3 separate regions of the Homo sapiens genome follow, and regions 1 and 2 are each linked to region 3. The links are contacts of gene promoters, found by promoter capture Hi-C in blood cells and fetal thymus (Javierre and others, 2016). All regions are on one chromosome and are shown on one strand. Each heading gives the region's core, a stretch centred on a gene start or on the middle of the fragment in contact. The rest is flanking DNA. Distances are from core to core; before and after follow the strand shown. Region 1 holds the start of CEACAM3 (CEA cell adhesion molecule 3). Region 2 overlaps DMRTC2 (DMRT like family C2). Region 3 holds the start of CNFN (cornifelin).

What was found. Contacts are between HindIII fragments. The CHiCAGO score rates a contact against its expected background, and 5 or more counts as called.
Region 1: a contact is called between the fragment with the promoter of CEACAM3 here and the fragment with the promoter of CNFN in region 3, in 8 of 17 cell types (naive CD4 T cells, non-activated CD4 T cells, total CD8 T cells and 5 more). The highest score is 7.1, in naive CD4 T cells.
Region 2: a contact is called between a fragment that was not itself captured here and the fragment with the promoter of CNFN in region 3, in 1 of 17 cell types (naive B cells). The highest score is 6.3, in naive B cells.

Annotation. Positions count from the first base shown.
Region 1 is chr19:41,795,290-41,798,515 of GRCh38, forward strand. CEACAM3 (CEA cell adhesion molecule 3) reads left to right here and starts at 1,298. Exons shown (of 7, transcript NM_001815.5): 1 at 1,298-1,452; 2 at 2,300-2,659. The coding sequence starts at 1,389. The HindIII fragment of the contact is 3,675 bases long and covers 427-3,226 here.
Region 2 is chr19:41,848,282-41,851,492 of GRCh38, forward strand. DMRTC2 (DMRT like family C2) reads left to right here. Exons shown (of 9, transcript NM_001040283.3): 4 at 171-247; 5 at 514-694; 6 at 849-975; 7 at 2,031-2,091; 8 at 2,245-2,419. Among named protein-coding and RNA genes, the nearest start is that of DMRTC2, 4.8 kb to the left of the region's middle. The HindIII fragment of the contact is 347 bases long and covers 1,383-1,729 here.
Region 3 is chr19:42,388,522-42,391,573 of GRCh38, forward strand. CNFN (cornifelin) reads right to left here and starts at 1,776. Exons shown (of 4, transcript NM_032488.4): 1 at 1,719-1,776; 2 at 405-518. The coding sequence starts at 516. The HindIII fragment of the contact is 9,287 bases long and covers 1-3,052 here.

The sequences.
Region 1 (3,226 bases), core at 48-2,547, 590 kb before region 3:
TAGGTAGTGGAACTGGGAAATGAAAATAATGACAGATGCACCACAAGTTCTAACAAGCAAAAGTAGCTTTTTCACACATCCACATCAGCAGAAAGCCACAAGCCCAATATTCCGGCGTAGACACTCTTTGAAAACCAGAATTCCACAGCAATAACCACGATGACAACCACCATGTACTCAACACCCGCCTGGGCACGGGGCTCCCACAGCAGCTCACTTATTCCCAACAACTCTGCAAGGAGGATTTTACCATCCTCCTTTTACAAATCAGGGAATCAAGGATCATAGAAGCCACGTGACTTGTCCAAGTCAACATAGTTAAGTGACAGAACCATTAGCTGTCCCCAGGTACATCTGGACATAAAGTTCATGTTTATGCCACTGTGTCAGCATTTCCAAAAACTGATTTTAGGCGAAACGTAAGTAAGCTTTTTAAAAACTTTAATACTTATGCGTTTATTTTAATATACATTGAGAAAACATTTAAGCACACATCAAATCTGTAATTTCATGGACAATATTGCATAAGACAAGGATGTTTTGTCTCCAACTCCTGGCCTCAAGCCATCCTCCCACCATAGCCTCTCGAGTAGCTGGGATCACAGATCTGAGCCACCGATCCCTGCTAGGACAGGATGTTTTGTAAACTAAATTTATTTAGAAAAAAGGATGAAATATATAATAATAAAGGTGGTACAAGCTAGAGAGAAAATCATAAAGTCAGCCTAGAAATGTCTGGTGTCTGGATGACATAAAGCTACAGCACTGTGAAGCCTCATTCTCAGTTACTCCCAGGAAATTAGAGTCACATAATGCTGCAGAAAGAACAGCTCAGAATCTTAGATCCGGGCTTTAGCCCTAGATATATCCATTTGTAGGACCCCAGACATCTCTGTGACCTCCTTGCTGGGAGTAAATCCAACCTTCCCAGACATGTGAGAACAGTAAGAAGACCCTGCACACACAAAGGAGTTTCTCCGTCACAGAGAAAATAACACCAGGTTCAGGGACCCCAGGGACTCTGCATGGTGCTGACAGACCCAAGGCCAAGGCAGAGCAGAGGTCCACGCTGGGGAGGGAGGGTCATCCTGTTATGAAACAGGGATCCAAGTAAGCCTTGCTTCTCAGAGCCTGGTCTGGGGAACTCAAATGTAGACAGAAGGGAGAAAGGAAGAAGAGAAAATGAGGCAAAACTGAGAGGGGAGGGGACAGAGAGGTGACCTGGGCAGAGCTTCACCCATGACCCTGGAAAGTGCTCCTGCCCTGGGAGGAGGCTCAGCATGGAAAGAGGAAGGACAGCAGAGCCTAAGTCACAGTAGCCCTGACTACAGCATTCCTGGAGCCCAGGCTCTTTTCCACAGAGGAGGAAAGAGCAGGCAGCAGAGACCATGGGGCCCCCCTCAGCCTCTCCCCACAGAGAATGCATCCCCTGGCAGGGGCTTCTGCTCACAGGTGAGTGGAGGATTCCTGGGAGTGGGCAAGAGGAGGGATCACAGAGAATGGCTGGGGTCTCCTGGGGAGGATGGGGCTCTGATAGGGGACAGAAGGCTTCTGCTGAAGCCTCAGGGGAGAGAACATCAGAGAGGGACACGGGTCACAACAAGACAATCACATTGAACTGGGATTGATAAGAGGGAGGAAAATCCATTGATCATGTTTTCCAAGTTAATCATTACTGGCCACTACAATTAGAAAATGATAAGAATAAGAATTACATCAGGGTGATACTTTAAATAAAAATATAACCAGGGCACTAAAACCTGTCTTTGACCACCAACCACAAGTTGCAAAATAACCACCACTCCTTAACTCATCCACCAGTATTTGCAATCAAATTTTAGGCACTGGCGTACAACAAATATCAGACAAGTCTCTGTGTTCAAAGAGCTTACACTCTTGCAGAGATGAAGATAGACACCCAAAGAGATCTAGAATGTGAGTTCAGGTGTTGACAAGAGCCCTGGAGGGAACAGAGCAGAAAAAGGTCAGAAAGGGAAGACCCAGGGTCTCTAGAGGAGGTGTCAGGGGAGGGATCTCCCAAGGATGCCCTGATGTGAGCAGGATCTGAGGGCAGTGGGGAGGGAGCCATGCAGACCCCTGGGGAAGGGGATTCCACACAGGAAAATGCCAAGGTTAGAGGTGCTGAAGAAAGAAAGGTCACGTTACTGACCTTGACCAAGTGGGACACACATACACTCTCCAAGGCTGAAGGGTGAAGAGACTCTCTCAGGACCCAGGGCCCCATCTTTCCATCCCAATACATGGGTCCCAATATTGACTGATGCTTTCTCCCTCCTAGCCTCACTTCTAAACTTCTGGAACCCGCCCACCACTGCCAAGCTCACTATTGAATCCATGCCGCTCAGTGTCGCAGAGGGGAAGGAGGTGCTTCTACTTGTCCACAATCTGCCCCAGCATCTTTTTGGCTACAGCTGGTACAAAGGGGAAAGAGTGGATGGCAACAGTCTAATTGTAGGATATGTAATAGGAACTCAACAAGCTACCCCAGGGGCCGCATACAGCGGTCGAGAGACAATATACACCAATGCATCCCTGCTGATCCAGAATGTCACCCAGAATGACATAGGATTCTACACCCTACAAGTCATAAAGTCAGATCTTGTGAATGAAGAAGCAACTGGACAGTTCCATGTATACCGTGAGTATTTCCACATGACCTCTGGGTGTTGGGGGTCAGTTCTACTTCCCACATATGGGATTGTCAGGCCTGGGCTGTGCCTGTGGCCCTCTCTGCATTACATTCTGTATCAGGGTTTGGACATTTAGTGCAGGACACACACGGGGGAGACAAACTTCCACAGATCAGAATTCCTTTCCTGCATCCAGACCCTGCAGACACTCGCTGCAGAGGAAGGACAGTCTGATGGGGGGACTCAGCAGGGCAAGGTCAGTGTCAGAAAAGAACCCCATGGTCTCCCCATGGACCTGACCCTAAGAAAGACCCTGGAGAACTGGATCAGGGCCTGGCCTGAGGGGTCCCCCTAGGATTCTCAGAGAGAAGCTCAACTCTTCCCAGAACTGAGCCCCTGTGCAAATCCCTGTCCCAGATTCCTGACTCCAGGTGACCCTGGGGACCCTAGGGATCCTGTGCCAGGGCTGAGTGAGGCCTCCTGGGCAGGGCTGACTGGGAGCAAGAATTTACCAGCTGTCTGAGGGTCGTGGCTCCTGGAGTTGGTCACCAGCCAGGGTCCAGCCCCAAGAACCT
Region 2 (3,211 bases), core at 306-2,805, 540 kb before region 3:
GTTGTAGTGAGCCAAGATCACGCCACTGCACTCCAGCCTGGGCGACACAGCAAGACTCCATCTCAAAAAAAAAAAATGAGCTAGATGGGGGAGATGAGAACTGTCTGGGGTTGGGGTAGGATAGGGGTCAGGAGAAAGGGCTCATTAGAGCTCTCCCTGGTCCTTCACAGCTGGAAAGGAGAACATAGCACCCCAGCCTCAGACCCCCCATGGGGCAGTCCTGCTGGCACCGACACCCCCCGGGAAGGTAAGGAGAGGCTGGGGCCTGAGAAAGTGTCCCCCACCCTAGTTCCTACCCAGACCCTTTCTTCTGTGCCCTCAACACCTGGGTTCTAGCCCCAGCCCTGGTTTGCTATGTAATCTAGTCAAATCACTGCTCTTCTCTAGGCAAAATGAGGGGAAAACGAGGGCCTCCCAGCCCCAAAGTTTTGGGGTTCTGCCCGTATCCCAGAATACACTCAATCCTTTTCCAGCCTTGTACCCAACTCCAGCCTGTGCCCTCTGCCCCTGCAGAACTCCTGTGGGCCTCTGCTGCTCAGCCATCCCCCGGAAGCCTCGCCCTTGTCCTGGACTCCGGTGCCTCCTGGCCCTTGGGTCCCTGGACACTGGCTGCCTCCAGGCTTCTCCATGCCACCACCAGTGGTGTGCCGCCTGCTGTACCAAGAACCTGCTGTCTCTCTGCCTCCCTTCCCTGGTAAGATGATAATTCAACATTCATTCAACATATATTTGAGTGCCAATCTGCCACATATTGGAGAGGGAAGAGGAAGAAAGCATAGGTGGGGAGAGGGAGGAAAGAAACTATGACCTTGGCCCCTATACACTCTGCATTCTTTTATTCTTATTAGGCTTTGACCCTGGCACCTCCCTCCAGCTGCCCACTCATGGGCCCTTCACCACCTGCCCAGGATCTCACCCAGTACTGACAGCTCCTCTTTCTGGAGAGCCCCAAGGGCCCCCTAGCCAGCCCCGCACGTGAGTAGGGAGAGAAGGATGTGTATCATAAGCCTAAGCCTGTGCTGTGTCCAACCACAGTGCTGGTGTCCAACCACAGTGGATAATGAAGATGAAAAGGTCTCTGACTAATAGGCAAGGCAGAGCTCTCCTAGTACTGCCATTTCCTAGCTGTGATGCTTTGGACAATTATCTTTACCTCTCTGAGCCTGTTTTTCTATCAGTAAATTGGAGACACTATTACTTACCTCTCTGATTGTTGTAAGAATTAGCAATAATGTATGGAATAGACCTAGCACAGACTCTTTAATGGTAGCTGTTATATCTGCTTAGACAGATTTGATGGGGTAAGATTGCCTGCTGATATGGGGGGCAGAGATGATGAGAGCCTCAGAGACCCAGGAGAGGGGCCAGAGGCCATTAGGAAAAGCTTCCCAAAGGTGAGCCAAGCTCTCCTTCAAGTTCTATGGTGACTGGGGAACTGGGGGAATGGGACCCAGACTCTGATAGGTCAGGGACAGTAATCTCAGTCTTCTAGGTGTTTTTTTAAAAACCGGCATCAGGTGGGGCCTGGTGGCTCACACCTGTAATCCCAACACTTTGGGAGGCTGAGGTGGGAGGATTACTTGAGGCCAAGAGTTTGAGACCACCTGAGTAACTGAGCGAGACTTCGTCTCTACAAAAAAATTAAAACAGCCAGGAATGGTGGTGCACACCTGTTTTCCTGGCTACTTAGGAGGCTGAGGTGGGAAGATGGTGTAGGCCCAGGAGTTCAAGCTTATGGTGAGCCATGATCACACCGCCACTGCACTCCAGCCTAGGTGACAGAGCAAGAGCCTGTCTCAAAAAAAAAAAAGACACTAGTGATTTCCCATAATCCTCACAGTAGCCCTGGGAGGAAAAACTGGCAAGGATTTTTACTTTACTGAAAACAAAATAAGTCAAGACACAGCTTAATGGCCCAGCAGGCTCTCAGATTCCCAGATCAAAACATGGCAAAATCCTGCCCCTCTTTCAATGTGTGCATGTCTGTTCATCTGTTTAACCACCCTGGCATCTTCTCTCCTTGTTTCTAGACACTCAACTCTGATACTCCAGCCCTGTGGCACCCCAGACCCTCTTCAGCTACAGCCACAGGTCCTGGGAAAGAAGTGGGATCTAGGGCCCTGGGAGGAGGTTGAGCCTGGGGAAGGAAAAAGCAGGAAACTGAAGGAAGCAGGGGCTGAGGAACACTTAGAGGGTGGGCAGAAGCGGGGGTTCCCAGTCTGCTTGTCTCCCTTTCCCTTGCAGGCCTCTGGAGCCTCGTGCCTGGCCCGGACATCTGGCCCCTCAGAGTGGCAGCTGCAGCAAGAGGCAGCTGAAGCCCTCGTGGGGCTGAAAGATTCATCCCAGGCTCCTCGTGTGACCCCTTCTGTGCCCCCCAACCCTGCCTGGATCTCCCTGCTTCACCCCTGTGGCCCACCAGGTGGGCCATGAAAGGAGAGGATGGATAGGGATGGCTGGGAAATGGAGATCACTGAAGTACACAGGGACTAACCAAGGAGATGAGGGGGTCGACAGGTTGAACGTCTTCAGGCCCAGGACCCCAAGCTCCTCAGCCTGGCCCCTGGGATTGCAGTTGAGAGTTATTCAGTGAATCCTTTTTATCAGTTTGGCACTCGACAGCAAATTTCTTGATATCAAGGAAAGTGGGGCACTGAGAAAGGCAGGGACTTGCCCAAGGGCATATAGTGAGACAGTGGCAGGGAACCCAATGCTCTGTCTCTGGACCCAGGCTGCCTGCTGAAGTCTGAAGTGGGGTCTGGCCTGGGAGGAGGTCTGATAAGTGCCTTCAAGGAGCTTACGTTCTAGTTAGGGAAATTGGATGCCTTCACAAGGCTCAGTGACAAACCTGAAGAAGATTGGAGGAACCTTGAAGAGTGAGAAACACCTAGGGGGACAGACAGGGAAAGCTGCGAATTCTCTTGTCCAAATAGTGGATTGGGCAGACTGGCCTGGAGGAAATGCTAGAACAGAGGGAAAGGAGGCTGGAGAGGCTTCTGATGGTGGAGATCTGGCATGCCAGGCTTAGGTGTCTAGAACAGCAACTGTATGTGAAGGGGAGCCAGGGAACGTTTCTGAACTAAGCAAGGACAAATTCAGAGACCCTGAGCTTTAGAAAGACAAGTGGGTGGCTTTGATGGACGGTTTGGAGGAGGCAAGACTGGAGGTGGGAAAATTAGCAAGGAGGTCTGTGAAATAATCCAGGAGAACAATG
Region 3 (3,052 bases), core at 526-3,025:
GGGATCTCATTATGTTGCCCAGGCTGATCTTGAATTCCTGGCCTCAAGGGATTGTCATGCCTTGGCCTCCCAAAGTGTTGGGATTACAGGCATGAGCCACTGCACTGGGCCAGGAGCTAGGGTTTGAAGAGGGAGTTGGGGGTCACAGTGAGGAAAGCTGAGCATGCAAAGGGGAGGTTGAGGGCCTGATAAGTTGAGTGTGGGAAGGCATGAGGTAGTATCCTAAGGAGTGTTGGGGGTCTGAGGAAAGGGTGACTGTTAGAGTGGGAATTCCAAGTCCAGGGAAGGGAGGTGGGAGTGGGGTTAGCAAGCGGTGGGAGGAGGTTGGAGGTGAGCTTCCCTCTCCTGATTCCCCCCAAACCCATCTTCCACCAGGCCTGGAGAGGGAGCAGGCAGGCACTCACAGACAGGCATGTCGTTGCAGCAGTCCGTGAGACCTGTGTGCCAGTCACTGAGCTGGGTCTGGTAGCAGCTGGTGGTGGCGCACTGGGGCTGACTGGTCACAGGGTAGGACATAGCTGCAGAGGTGGGAGGGTAGGGGTCAGCTGGCAGCCTCGCAGCATCTCCTGGGCCCCGCACTTCGGCCACCCTTCCCTGTGCCGGGCAGTCTGGGCGGGGCCGCCAGGCCGCCCACTGAAGGGACACCACTGTGCCTCCCCCTTCCCTTCTGCTACATCTGGGCACCGGCAACCCCAGTCTGTCCCTGTTGCTGCTGGCTCCTGCACGTCTGGTTAGGCTGGGGGTGGGGGTCTCCTGCACATCTGAGGAAGGGTGGGGACCACATCTGGGTGGGGCCTGGCGGTGCCGCCTCCTCCTCCACGTCTGGGCCTGGGTTCTGGGTTGCAGCATTTCTGGGGCCTCTGGGGTGGAAGCAGGCGCCGTCTGTCTTCGAAGCAAGGGTGCCCAGGGGAGGGAGGCGGCCAGGTTCCAGTACTGAGAGGGTTGCTGGTCCACCCAGCGGTCCCACCTTTGCCTTTCACGTTGTCGTGCATCTCAAACTGCATCTTGCTGGCCCTGAGGAGGTGGCGTTGGGGACGGCAGAAGTGGCTGTGGCAACAGTGGCAGAGTCTGTCCAAGGGACGCTGGATACTGGGGAGGTGGGGGCAAGGGACTGGGGCACTGGGGGCTGGGCTCTCAGGGGGAGGGGAGCTGGGGAGAAAGAGGCCAAGTCAGCCTGTCAACCAGGAGAGACATGGAATAGGGAATGGATAGGGCGGGGGCGAGAAACTCGCCCATGTCTTTCCAACTGCCCGACAGATTGCAGAGGACCCTCCCCATACCCGAGATAGAGCTTGAGGGAGAACAAGAAATGGAGATGGACAGAGTCAGAGACAAGGGGAGAAAGATCAGAGCCAGGTGCCCGTAGAGATGTCACCAGTAATGCCCACATGTGCCCAGCACTTTGACTCCTCTGCAAGCCCATCTCACAGATGAGCACTGAGGCTCAGAGACATGAGGAGGAACGCCCCACGTCTGACGGCCCAGGCCAAGGGGGTTCATAGAGGTGATGCTGGGCCCCAAGACTTCTAAATTCAGCTCAGCACACCCCAGTTAAGAAGGACAGATTTGGGGGCATTGGGAAGGACAGAGATGTCCCGAGAGACCGACAATCAGCGATATGAAAGGAGACAGAGTGATATGAGTGGGATGAGGAGGAGGGAGAACAGAGCAGAGGCGCCCAACCTCAAAGAAGAGGGCTGCGGAGGGGATGTTCCTACCTGCAGGATCGCGATGGCAGTGATGGAGGCAGACGTGTGGAGACACGGGCACTGACTTCTCCGTCTCAGCCCAGAGCCACTTATATGGGCGGCCACGCAGCCCTGGGCGGGGCTCTGACAGAGGTGCCCAGGGAGCCAAGCCGGTCTGATCGACCCTCTCCCCACACTGGGATTTCCCGCCCTCCCTCTCCACTCCCATCCCCCCACTTCTCCTCCTGCCTCAGCTCCCAGGACCCAGGGAAAAGAAGGTGGCGGGGGGTGGGAGGTTTGGCGGGGGCGGGGGGCCACAGCCGGGTCAATGCGCAGAGACCAAAAGAGAGGGAGAGACAGAAACACAGTGTCAGAAAGGCAGGCAGGGAAGTCCCTCTAGACAGAAAGGAGAGAGAGGAGATTCAGAGAGATGGAGAGACGCAGGAAGATGTAGAGAGATGGAGAGGTGCCAAGAAACAGAGGGGCACAAAAATGTGAAAAGAAATAACAAGAAGAGGGGAGATGGGCCAGGCATGGTGGCTCTCGCCTGTAATCCCAACCCTGTAATCGCCTGAGGTGAGAGGATCGCTTGAGCCCAGGAGTTGAAGACCAGCCTGGGCAACATAGGGATACCCCATCTCTACAAAAAATACAAATAGAATTAGCCGGGCATGGTGGCATGTGCCTGTAGTCCCAGCTACTTGAGAGGCTGAGGCAGGAGGATCGCTTGAGTCCAGAAGTTTGAGGCTGCAGTGAGCCGTGTTCCCGCCACTACACTCCGGCCTCAGTGACAGAGCAAGACCCTGTCTTAAAAAAAAAAAAGGAAAGAAAAGGGGAGATGGGAGACAGAAGAGAGACGGAGATGGAAAAGTGGAGAGGCAGGTGGGGGGATCACTGAACAGGCTTAGAGGGCAGGGAAATGGGGAGAGGTGATGGGTGGGGAGAGAAAAAGGCCGGGTGGAGTGGGAGAGAGTGCTGTGTGGGACTCCCCTTTCAGGGTCTCGCTCATCTCTCTCAGTGATATCCCCACTTTCCTGGGAGAGGGGGACAGTGTCCTCCCCATTCAAGCCAGGAGACACATGGGGGGCAGTGTGTTTTGGGGAATGACTCATGTTGGAACCAAAGTAAATAAACACACCTCACCCCAGCTCCAAATTGGGAAGGGAGGAGGCTGGGAACTGAAAAGCCGCAGTTCCTGAAGGACGTGGACGTCACCTGGGACTCCTGGGTCCTAATGGAGCAAAGGAGTGGGGGCTTGGACCCCTGGGTCTGAGGGAGGAGGGGCTGGGGCCCTGGACTCCTGCGTCTCATGAGGCCAGGCTGCACATCCCTCAGTAGGGTAGGGGTCCTGGGATTCCACACTG